Regions from separate parts of the Homo sapiens genome. Here all the other regions are linked to region 2. The links are contacts of gene promoters, found by promoter capture Hi-C in blood cells and fetal thymus (Javierre and others, 2016). All regions are on one chromosome and are shown on one strand. Each heading gives the region's core, a stretch centred on a gene start or on the middle of the fragment in contact. The rest is flanking DNA. Distances are from core to core; before and after follow the strand shown. Region 1 has its middle 150 kb from the start of LINC00621. Region 2 holds the start of FGF9 (fibroblast growth factor 9). Region 3 has its middle 120 kb from the start of LINC00621. Region 4 has its middle 110 kb from the start of LINC00621.

Evidence for each region. Contacts are between HindIII fragments. The CHiCAGO score rates a contact against its expected background, and 5 or more counts as called.
Region 1: a fragment that was not itself captured here is called in contact with the fragment with the promoter of FGF9 in region 2 in 2 of 17 cell types (erythroblasts and M2 macrophages); the score reaches 7.0 in erythroblasts.
Region 3: a fragment that was not itself captured here is called in contact with the fragment with the promoter of FGF9 in region 2 in 5 of 17 cell types (M0 macrophages, M1 macrophages, M2 macrophages and 2 more); the score reaches 10.7 in M0 macrophages.
Region 4: a contact is called between a fragment that was not itself captured here and the fragment with the promoter of FGF9 in region 2, in 4 of 17 cell types (M2 macrophages, M1 macrophages, M0 macrophages and 1 more). The highest score is 8.8, in M2 macrophages.

The regions. Positions count from the first base shown.
Region 1 is chr13:22,761,906-22,764,785 of GRCh38, reverse strand. No RefSeq gene overlaps it. Among named protein-coding and RNA genes, the nearest start is that of LINC00621, 150 kb to the left of the region's middle. The HindIII fragment of the contact is 4,450 bases long and covers 1-2,880 here.
Region 2 is chr13:21,669,648-21,672,462 of GRCh38, reverse strand. It overlaps FGF9 (fibroblast growth factor 9), which reads right to left and starts at 1,390. Exons shown (of 3, transcript NM_002010.3): 1 at 274-1,390. The coding sequence starts at 550. RefSeq lists silencers at 1,403-1,462, 1,483-1,532, 2,313-2,572. The HindIII fragment of the contact is 3,792 bases long and covers 1-2,815 here.
Region 3 is chr13:22,790,930-22,793,629 of GRCh38, reverse strand. No RefSeq gene overlaps it. Among named protein-coding and RNA genes, the nearest start is that of LINC00621, 120 kb to the left of the region's middle. The HindIII fragment of the contact is 1,218 bases long and covers 662-1,879 here.
Region 4 is chr13:22,807,040-22,809,739 of GRCh38, reverse strand. No RefSeq gene overlaps it. Among named protein-coding and RNA genes, the nearest start is that of LINC00621, 110 kb to the left of the region's middle. The HindIII fragment of the contact is 498 bases long and covers 1,009-1,506 here.

The sequences.
Region 1 (2,880 bases), core at 83-2,582, 1.1 Mb before region 2:
GTTTCAGCAATTAAATATTACAATTTGAAATGCAGTATAATTTGCTTTCTGCAGCTTAAAAGTTTTCTTTAATATCGCAACAATCATTTGCAAATGTAAGGGGGAACTTCCCATAAATTTTACTTTCTTTGTTGTGCACAGTGTTAGTGTATTGTTGTAGTCTGCTATTTGAAATGTATAGCTTGTGTTGTAGTGAGTTGTAGTCTCATGTTCTTTCTTTATTCCTCTTTTTTTACACTTGTGTGTGTACACACACCTACGTATGCATATTTTCATAGTTCTCTATTAACATTTTTGGCATCCCTCTATGGGAACACACTATCTCCAAATATTAATAACCTGTTATTCTGAAGAATTGGCAAGGAAGGGATGCTAGAATCCTCTTTAAATAAAAATACAATGCTGCTTAACATATCAGGGCAAATACTTCAAAACATTCTAGGGGAAATGGTGAATTAGTGCCTGAATACCATAACATACTAAGTATAAGCCAATCAACTTTGTTTAAAAAAGGTCATCTCAACCAAATTTAAGTGTAATTCTCAGATAAGATAACAACCCGAGTAGATATCAAGACTCTGGTGGGTTAAGGTCACCTTCCTGGAGAATCACTGAGTTGAATGATTTTATAATAGGTTGGAGGACTCTGGAAGGAATGCATATTAGTAGAGTTAGATGGCTTCAAAACTAGTTTAAAATGAATCTGTCTAGACAGGAGTCGATGTTAGTGTCTGGGAAGAGTATTTATAGACACCTCTTTGATATCTATACAACATTTTCTCCTATGGAATATTTATTATTGTCCAAAAAGAGGAAAATGAGTTAGCACAATGTTCACATTTTTAGTATATCCAAATTAGGTTGGGTACAAGGAGACATTTTCTAATTAGTTTCAAGGAATTATATTTTAATATGTTTTTAAAAGAAATCAAATACTTTGATGAAAAGGAAATATAAGGTAAAGCAAGAGTTAAATTTTAAGCTGGAAAAAAATTAAGGTGCTTTTACAATGAAGTGCCTCTCTGAAAGTATAAAACTTAGATGAACTGTAAAGATCAAAAACTTGGTGATAAAATGATGACATTAGAGAAAATGAAAAATTGTATGAAAGTAGTAATGTCTGGAAATTGTTGAGCTCATTCAGGCAGGAGGAAAGATAATGAAAGCGGATAATGGACTGTAATTAAGTGCTCAGACCTCCTGCAAACCCGTGTGAAAGTCAAGTTACTTTTGTTCAAGATAGAAACCCCAAAGCCTTGGCAAGAAGTACCAAGAATTCTTTTCAAAGAATAAACACACTGAAAGATTTCTTTGAAACACACACACACACACACACACACACACACACACACGTACACACATAGTTCTCACCCATTTAAGGAGACCATTTATTATTCTACTTACAACCAAAGTGAAATCTGGTACCATTATCCTTGCTTGTGATTTAATGGCGTAGAATGTTGACAGAGAGAAGTCTCTGATGGAAACATCAGAAGAAATTGCTTTGTAATTCCGCAGAGATTATTACTGACTGCTTAGACAAATCTTTAGCAAGATAGCCAAGCATTTTCAGAGCAAGTAACCTCTCTGTGCTGTGATTTGGGTGATGTAAAGGTTGTCCACCCCAAAATATTGCAGATGAGTCAGCCATGGTACCCAGTGATAATTGCCCTCCCTGTGAGGATGCATTTCATGGGAATGTGACAGTAATCTATAGCTCACTGTGTATTTGGGGAGATGAGACTAAGCAGGTGAAATTTAATTAATTTTCTAGGGATGTCATTTGGTGTCATGAGAAAGGCATAAGTGTTAAAATTAAACCAAAACTGGCCGGGCGCGGTGGCTCATGCCTGTAATCCCAGCACTTTAGGAGGCCGAGGCGGGTGGATCACGAGGTCAGGAGCTCGAGACCATCCTGGATAACACCGTGAAACCCCATTCTACTAAAAATACAAACAAATTAGCCGGGCGTGCTGGCGGGCCCCTGTAGTCCCAGCTACTCGGGAGGCTGAGGCAGGAGAATGGCGTGAACCCGGGAGGCGGAGCTTGTGGTGAGCCGAGATCGTGCCACTGCACTTCAGCCTGGGCGACAGAGCAAGACTCTGTCTTAAAAACAAAAAACAAAAAACAAAAAAACACAAAACAAAAAAAAAAAACTAACAAAAAAATGGGTTGGAAAGCCAGCTCCACCACAACCTAATTTGGGACTTGAGACTTGCTAACTAACTGTTGAAGTCCCACTTTCCACACCTGTAAAGCGGGAATGATCATCTCAATCTGACAGTATTGTTGGAAAGATGAGATAACATAGGAAAACTAACTGACTTATAATAGGTGCTCAATGTAGGATTGCTTTTACTATTACAAAATTAATTGTCCAAACAATAAACAGTGTCTCTGTGTAATTCTTTAGTCTAGATTCTGTAACAAGTGCTATAAGTTCTATAGTAGATTGACATTCTTGCATGTCAGAAATATTTATCTTCATATATCTAGTACTTGACACAGAACAAGGCATGGAGTATGTATTTAGAACTTACCTCTTCAATTTGAATTATACTGCAATTGATTCTCTACACTGTTTATATTTTTAGGTAAGTTTGGGGAAAGCAAAATTTATCTCTCAGGATAAACCTTATATGTGCTTTAATTTTTTTTTCAAATTTTCCAAAATTTTTTCCAACTTTTTAGTGTGTTAAAAATACACATAAGAGTTACCATCTTAACCATTTTTAAGTGCAGAGTTCAGTGCTATTAAATACATTAATAATATTGCACAACCAACACCACCATCCATATTCATAGCTCTTTTCATCTTGTAAAACTGAAACTCTATATTCATTAAGTAATAACGCTGCATGTCCCTTCCCCTCAGGCCCA
Region 2 (2,815 bases), core at 141-2,640:
CTTGTATTATATTTATAAATTATGCCCCCCTTTAAATTAAAAGTAGGGGGCCTTTCAGTGTATACTTGCATCAGTGCCAGCAGCAGATCTGCAATTCCGGAGGCATTTTTTTTTCGGAGCTGGCAAGACAGAGAGAGAGAGAGACAGAGATACAGAGAAAGAGGGGAGGAGGGGAGAACCCTTCCCACGTCCCCCACCCGGCCACCACCTTCTTGGTAGTTATAATTTCAACATGTCATCTCATGGACACTAAAGGGTTAATGGTATACCTACCAAATCGGCTGTGGTCTTTCCTGGTTCCCTGGATAGTACCATTGGGGAAGATTTCTAAGTGAAATCCAGTCCTGCAGTATAGCTGCCTCCGCCTGAGAATCCCCTTTAAATGATCCAAGTCCGTGACTGCGGGTCCCCTGGGGAGCCCCCCTGCTTCGGACTGACCCAGGTGGTCACTTAACAAAACCGGGCTGTCCACCGGCAACACGGGCACATTCCCAAACGGTACCGCATCCTGCACACCGAAATAGTTCCCAACTTCACCTAAGGGAGCCATCAGAGGACTCGGCTTTTGGAGCACAAGAATAAACAATAATGATGGTGTCAACCCAGGAGATATTAGGCGAGGTATATCCAACTCCCCTCCCTTACTGCAGTTGCAGAGAGAGAGAGAAAAAAAAGGTTCTTTTCTTCAATCCATTAAATGCATAAATAAAAGTAATCTGCTGTTTCACTGGCACAGGTTCAAGGTCAAACCACTGATAGTCTAAGAAACCACCACTTTATACTCACACACTGACATATTGATAAACATATCTATGTATCTCTATAGATAGATCCCCAGCTCTTAGCAGGCAGGAAGGTCTTCATCCCATCCGACCGTAATAAGGAAAAAAAATCCGTAGTTTCTCCATTTGGTTTGAGATCAGAATGACCATAGCAACTTAAATGCCTAGGCGTTATTATAGGGATTTTTAAGATGCACGGGCTACGTCAGAATTTACGGATCCTGACTCCAGGAAGGCATGCGCTGTTTTTACTCTCTAACCGACTCTGCAGACATCAGCATGAATCCTTCAAGGGGAAAAAAAAATCTCACGTTGGTGGCGGCGACAAATCTCCCCTCCCGGTCCCCCCTCCAAAAAATGATAATAATAATAAAACAAAAAGAAGAAGAAACTTTAGGCGTCCAAAGCTAGTATCCAGGATTCTCCAGAGGCTCGGCAGATGTCCATTGGCTTAGAACGGGTGGCGAGCGGCGAGCGAGGAGAGCCGCGTCCGGGAGCTCGCGTGCCGCCCAGGCTGCCGCGAACAGGTGTTGCCGCGCCGGCTCGCGGAGCGTTGTAGCCGGGCGGAGCGCTCCTCCTGCGCAGCCCCCGCCGGCGCGCAGAGTGGCGCAGGCAGCGGCATTGGGCTGGGTTTAAGGTAGCGCCGCCGCAGCCCGGGCTCCCCGCGGTCCTAGCGCCCGGCTTACTGCCCGCGCCGCTCTGCGGCAGGCGAGGTGCGGCGCGCCAGAGCGCAGGACTTCCTGGGAGGCAGTCGAGGAGCCCTGGCTTTACAAAGAAAAGCAAATGAAAGATGCACTGCGAGAGGCGGGAGGAAGAAACCCTGAGTCTCCCGAGACTCAAAGTTCTCCTGCAGAATAGAAGCCGGTAACCTACAATCTAGCTGGCTGGCTACATTGATGGAGGGTCAGAGTGAAACTGGGAAACTAGTTTTCACTGGGGCTCTGTAACCTTGCGTTGTATTATAGAATATGACTGAGTTGAGAGAGTCGGAGGGAAGGGGAGTTGATTTAATGGACTCGGATGGCCATGGCAGTTTCTCTTCCATTCTTCGGCCACACACACAGAAGCGCAAACTATGTTTCAGGTAAGATCAACTCCTCTCCCCCGTCACACACACACACACACACACACACGCAGATGCGGCCACCGTTTCTGTTTTGTTTGGAGCGTTCTGCTGGGCATCTTTGGGTTGGGGCTATGTTTAGGTCCCGCCCCGCTGCTCGGGTCCCGGCGGCCGCAAAGCAGTCGGCAGGGGGGCGCCAGAGAACCTTCTCTGTCCCCGACTTCGACTCGGGCGCGCGTCTTCGGGAGTCTGGGTGGAGGGGAGCGCTCCAGTAGGCGTCTTCTCGCCCTCAAACCACGCTGCTTAGGACGAGCGGCGCCATCCCAAGCCGTGCATCGGCTCGGGGAAGCGAAAGGCGAGTTCTGGTGTCTCACTCCACCGTCCGAAGCCCGCCGCGGAGCTGGGAGGGCCGGGCACTGGATGCTTGCGGGGCGCCCCGGGGCTGCAGCCGCTCCTTCCTGCTCTGCCCTGCGGGGCCGCACGTGGAAGCCTGAGCTCCGTTGCGCGGGCTCGGGTTTCTGTTAGCCGCCGGCGGCCTTCGCGCCCAGCGGGAGTCAGGGACAAAGAAACCCGCCTCCGGGGGCCGCCAGGGGCCCTGCCGGGCCGGGCCCGCCAGAGAGACTGGAGGCGGCGCGCTCTGCGCCCGGGACAGCCTGCCTGCGCCCGGATCCCCAGTGGCGGCGGGCGCGGAGCGCGGCGCCCCCCAACACACACACACACACACACACACACACACACACACACACACTCGCCCACAGCCCTCCCGCGGGGCCCCCCTTCCCTCCCCCTGCTCCTCTTTGTTCACATTGTCTTAGAAACGGCCCGACTCTCGGGTCAAGATGGTGAAAGTTGCCGAGACTTGAGCGCAGCTCCACACTGCGGGGCGTGCAACTGAGAAGCAAAGTCGAAAGCAGAGACTGAACCCCTGCGGTGGGGAAGCGAATCAAAACCTGGTTATGGGGGAGAAGTC
Region 3 (2,700 bases), core at 21-2,520, 1.1 Mb before region 2:
GTTGCAGGCTCTTTCCTGGCTTCCACCGATTCCTTGGCAGCAGAACTCCAGTCTCCATGCAGCGTTCTCCTGTGTGTCGGCTTCTTCACCTGGCCTTCTTTTTATAAGAACACAGTCGTGTTAGATTAGGGGCCCATCCTACTCCAGTGTGACGTCGTCTTGACTGATTACCTCTAAGGAACCTCTTTCCAAACAGGGCCCCATTCTGAGGTGTTGGGGGTTAGGACCTCAACATAGGATGTTTGATGGGGGGAAAAATTCAACCCAGAAGAGGGGTGGCGGAAGCTTTATTAATAATGACACATTTTCCCAATGGCCCAGCACCTCTGGTTATGGTAAAAGGTTTCACCCACGCCTGAGGCGGGGCTTTCATTCTTCATTCCTACTGCTTTTCTCATCCTATACTCTTTTCCTGGAAGCAACCATTCTCAAGATGTAAACTGCCACCTCTATGTAGACAGCTCGCTAATGTATGTGACCAGGCCATAGTCCTTTCCTGAAATTGAGGCCTTCTTAACCCACTGCCTGTCGACACATCACCAGGTATCACCCAGATACAGAAACCTCGATGGAAGCCAAGCCTGGCCGCTTCTTCCTCAACCCCCACCTAAGGAAGGTCCCGCCCCAGGTAAAGGCGCCTCCCGTGGTCCCCAGCTAAGCTTAGCTCCTGCACAACAATCTTGGGTGCTTCCCTCCCTTTCTCCCTCCACATCCCGAGTCCCTCAGCTTCACAGATAAATTGCCTTCACATCTGTAGAATGCCACCTCTTCCTCCTTATTCCTCTGGTTTAGGCAAAAAGTGCATTTTCTCTACATAGATGGTCTTACCTTTGTTCTTCTCCAACCCATCTTCAACACTGAGACAGGAGAATTCCTTCTGAAACCCAAACCCGATCACTTCACTCTCCTATTTTAATCCTAGGACTTGCAGAATATGTTCCTGTCTCCAGCTTCAGCTTTTCTCCTCATTTTTGGAGTTCATAAGTTTTAAAGACATGTATTGAGAAACTGCTGTGTGCCTGGCACTAGTCTAGGCACGTGTAGGGTACAAGGAAGGAGTGACTGACACATTCACAAAAATGCATGTAATTTTTACCATTGAGAATGCTTTTCAAGTTTTATGTCCCAAGTCCCTAAGATCGTCTTGTAAAACTGTGCTTCACTAAAAACGAAAAGCAGTGGGAACTGACTGATCTGATCAGGAAGAGGTTAAACTGTGGATGAAATGGACCGATGGAATTTACCCATTTCTGCTCTCTGCAGCGGCACCTCCTTACCTTATTTCTGAGTACCCCAGCAAAACAGGTCTGTTTATATTTTTCAGTATACAATTATTCCTCCCTTTTCTTCCTGACCTTGGAACGCCCTGACCCTGAGGTAGACATAAGGAGAAAGCAGAGTCATTGGAATGCAATCTTTAAGAAGCCTGCAGCCTTGCTCAAGCAACACACAAAGGCAGATAGAGCAATGGCTGTGAGAAACGAAGTGAAAATAAGCAAGAAATGAAAAACGTGTAGGCAACTTAGATGTCTTCAGAGCTTGCTGACTTGGTGACCTACTAGGGCACTAAAATCAAGAGGGGAGCTCTCTGAAGATGAAGAATGTAACTCTGGCTAAAGTATCAAAGACAAAGTACTCTCTCATCAAAATAATAATAATAGTAACATGCTTCTTTATGTTGTCATATTTAGTGACACCATTCTACTTAATAATGGCTGATGAGGGCTTTTTCAGAAAATAGAAATTCTACTTTAATGATGCTTCCCTGATGAGATTTAAAATCAAAACAAAAACAAGCAAGAGAAAAAGCTGTTTGTTCTTCAAGAAACTGATAATTGATACCAGGCTATGTTATATCACAATATACCTCTCCAAAGCTTCCCTGAAACATATTCTGTCACATGGGATATTTGGTAAGTTGCATAGAATTTAGACATATCAAATTTTATATTAGAAATATGTTTGTAAAAAAGGCGTGTAAAATAAATGTTCACTAATATGCATGGTGTTGCTACAAACATTCATGTACATGTCTTTATGTGGACGTACGTTTTCGTATCTCTTGAACGTACACTGGGAGTGGAGTTGAGGATGGTATGGTAACTGGGTAGGTAACGTTCTGAAGAACTGCTATACTCTTTTACAAAGAGGTTGTATAATTTTACGTTCTTGCCAACAAAGCATGAAGAATCCAGTTTTTCCACATGTTCCCAACACTTGCTATTGCCTGTCTTTTTAAATATAGTCATTTAGTGGATATGTAGTGTTATCTTGTGGTTTTGTTTGCACTTCTTCAGTGGCTAAAATTTCAACTGATGGCTGGGTACACAAATGTGGTACATCCACACAATGGAATATTATTTGGTAATTTAAAGGATTTAAGTACTGATACATGCTGCAACATGAATGGAACTCAAAGACATTGTGATCAGGGAAAGAAGCCCTTAGTACTATGTCCTTGAGTTCATACAGCATGTGGTGGTTTTGAAAAAAGCCCACTTACATGAACTACTCAATTCTTTAGAGGCAGAAAGTATATTACTTGTTGCTGAGGGCTGGAGTCAGGGAGAATGAGGAGTGACTGCTAATTGGTACATTTCTTTCTGGGACAATAAAAATGTTCTAAAACAGATTATGGTGATGGTTGGAAAACTTTGTAAATATATTAAAACCCATTAAATTGTACATTTAAATGAGTGA
Region 4 (2,700 bases), core at 8-2,507, 1.1 Mb before region 2:
TAATGGGGTTGTTTGTTTATTATCTTAACCAAGATATAGAAATTTTCTATCATTACAGGATGTTTCTCGAGCCTCTCCCCAGTTAATTCCTTCTCTCAAGAGCAAAACACAATTTCTGGTTTTTTTAACCATAGTTTTTTATAACCTAGAATTTCAGGTAGCTAGCATCATATTTGTGTGTGTAGCTTGTTAAATCTATATTGTTGCATGTAGCAATAGTATTTCTTCTTTGGTAATATTCCATTCTAGAAATGTACAACAATTTTGGCCAGGCGCGATGGCTCATGCCTGTAATCCCAGCACTTTGGGAGGTCAAGGCAGGTGGATCACCTGAGGTCAGGAGTTCAAGACCAGCCTGGCCAACATGGTGAAACCTCGTCTCTACTAAAAATACAAAAATTAGGAGGCCGGGCACAGTGGCTCATGCCTGTAATCCCAACATTTTGGGAGGCTGAGGCAGGCGGATCACCTGAGGTTGGGAGTTCAAGACCAGCCTGACCAACATGGAGAAACCCCATCTCTACTAAAAATACAAAATTAGTCGGGCGTGTTGGCGCATGCCTGTAGTCCCAGCTACTAGGGACGCTGAGACAGGAGAATCACTTGAACCCAGGAGGTGGAGGTTGCGGTGAGCCGAGATTGCGGTGAGCCGAGATTGCGCCGTTGCACTCCAGCCTGGGCAACAAGAGCAAAACTCCGTCTAAAAATAAATAAGTAAATAAAAAATACAAAAATTAGCCAAGTGTGGTGGCAGGCACATGTAATCCCAGCTACTTGGGCGGCTGAGGCAAGAGAATCGCTTGAACCTGGGAGGCGTTTGTTGCAGTGAGCTGAGATTGCGCCATTGCACTCCAGCCTGGGGTACAAGAGCGACACTTAGTCTCAAAAAAAAAAAAAAAAAAAAAATAGAAATGTACTACAACTTTAAAATCTGATCTCTGGTTAATGAACATTTTAGTTGTTTGAGACATAATAAATAAAGTTGCTATAAATCTTGTTGTTCAAGCTTTGTTAACATACTTTTTTTTTGCGAAATATTTCGGTGTGGAGTTGTCGGGCCAGAGTATAGGTAAAGGTTTATTTTATAAGACACTGCCACAAATGTTTTCAAAGTGGCTGTACTATTTTCATATAACAACTATTAATGTATGAGATTGCTGTTTGCTCTACATACAGCCCCTGTTGTTTTTTTTTCAATTTTCTACATTCTGGTAGCATAGTGGTATATCGTGCTTTTATATGCATTTTTCAAATGATGAATAATGTTGACTATCTTTTCATATGCGTTTTGGCTATTTGTATGTCTTCCATTTTAAAGTGTTTATCGAGTCTTTTGCATATTTTAAAATTGGGTTGTTTATCTTTTTCACGGAGTTGTAGCTATCTTTTGTGTATTTGGGATAACAGTTCTTTGTCAGATAAATGTTTTGCATACATTTTCTCCCATTTTCTCTGTTACTTGCCTACTCATTTTCTTAGGAGTATGTTTTTTGATTAACAGAAGCTTTTTTATTTGAATGTAATCCAACTTGTAATTATTTTGCCTTTATAATTAGTAATTTCTGTGTTGAGTCCAAGAAATATCTATTTGGCTACAAAGAACTTCTCTCATGTTTTTTTCCCCCTCAAAATGTTAAAGTTTTAGTTATTATGTTGGGTTTGTGATCCATCTTGAATTAACTTTTGTATACTCTGTGAGATAGAGGTTGAATTTTATTTTAGCTTTCCCTTGTAGCTATTCATTTTTTCCAAAGTATTTATTAAAAAGATTTCCCTTTGCTCATTGAATTATTTCAGTGCCTTTGTTGGAAATCAGCCTTTGTTGGAAATTAGTTAACCTCATAAGTGTGAATTTACTTCTGCACTGTATATTCTGCTCCATTGAACTATACTTGTCCATCTTTATTCCAGTGTCACACTGTCCTGACTAGGGTAGCTTTATAGTATGTCTTGAAATCAGATAGTGTACACCCTTTGTTCTTTCTTCCTGTTTTTTGGTACACATTTCTTATTTACTTATTTATTTTTAATTGACAAAATTGTATATAATTATGTACAACATGATGTTTTGAAATATATATATATATATACACACATTTTTGAATGGCTAAATTGAGCTAATTAACATGTGCATTACCTCACATTTTATTTTGTGGTGAGGACACTTAAAATCTAGCAATTCTTAGTAATTTTAAAAAATACAACACAATATTGACTATAGTCACAATCTTGTACAATAGGTCTCTTGACCTTATTCTTCCTAACTGAAATTTTGTATCCTTTGACCAGCATCACCCCAACCTCTCCCCAAACCCCAACCCTTGCTAATCTCCTTCTATTTTCTACATCTGAGTTCAGCTTTTTTAGATTCCACATAGAAGTGAGATCAAGCAGTATTTTTTTGTGTCTGGCTTATTTCATTTAACATAGTGTCTTTCAGTTTTATCCATGTTGTCACAAATGACAGGATTTTCTTCTTTTTTAAGGCTAACATTATGTTGCGTGTATATTCCACATTTCTTTATCCATGCATTCATTGATGGATACTTATGTTGTTTATGTTGTTTCCATACCTTGGCTACTGTGAATAATGCTGGAATGAACATGCAGTGCACATATATTTTTGGCATACTGATTCTATTTTCTTTGGTTATATAATCAGTGTTGGGATTTCTGCATCACATGGTAGTTCTGTTTTTA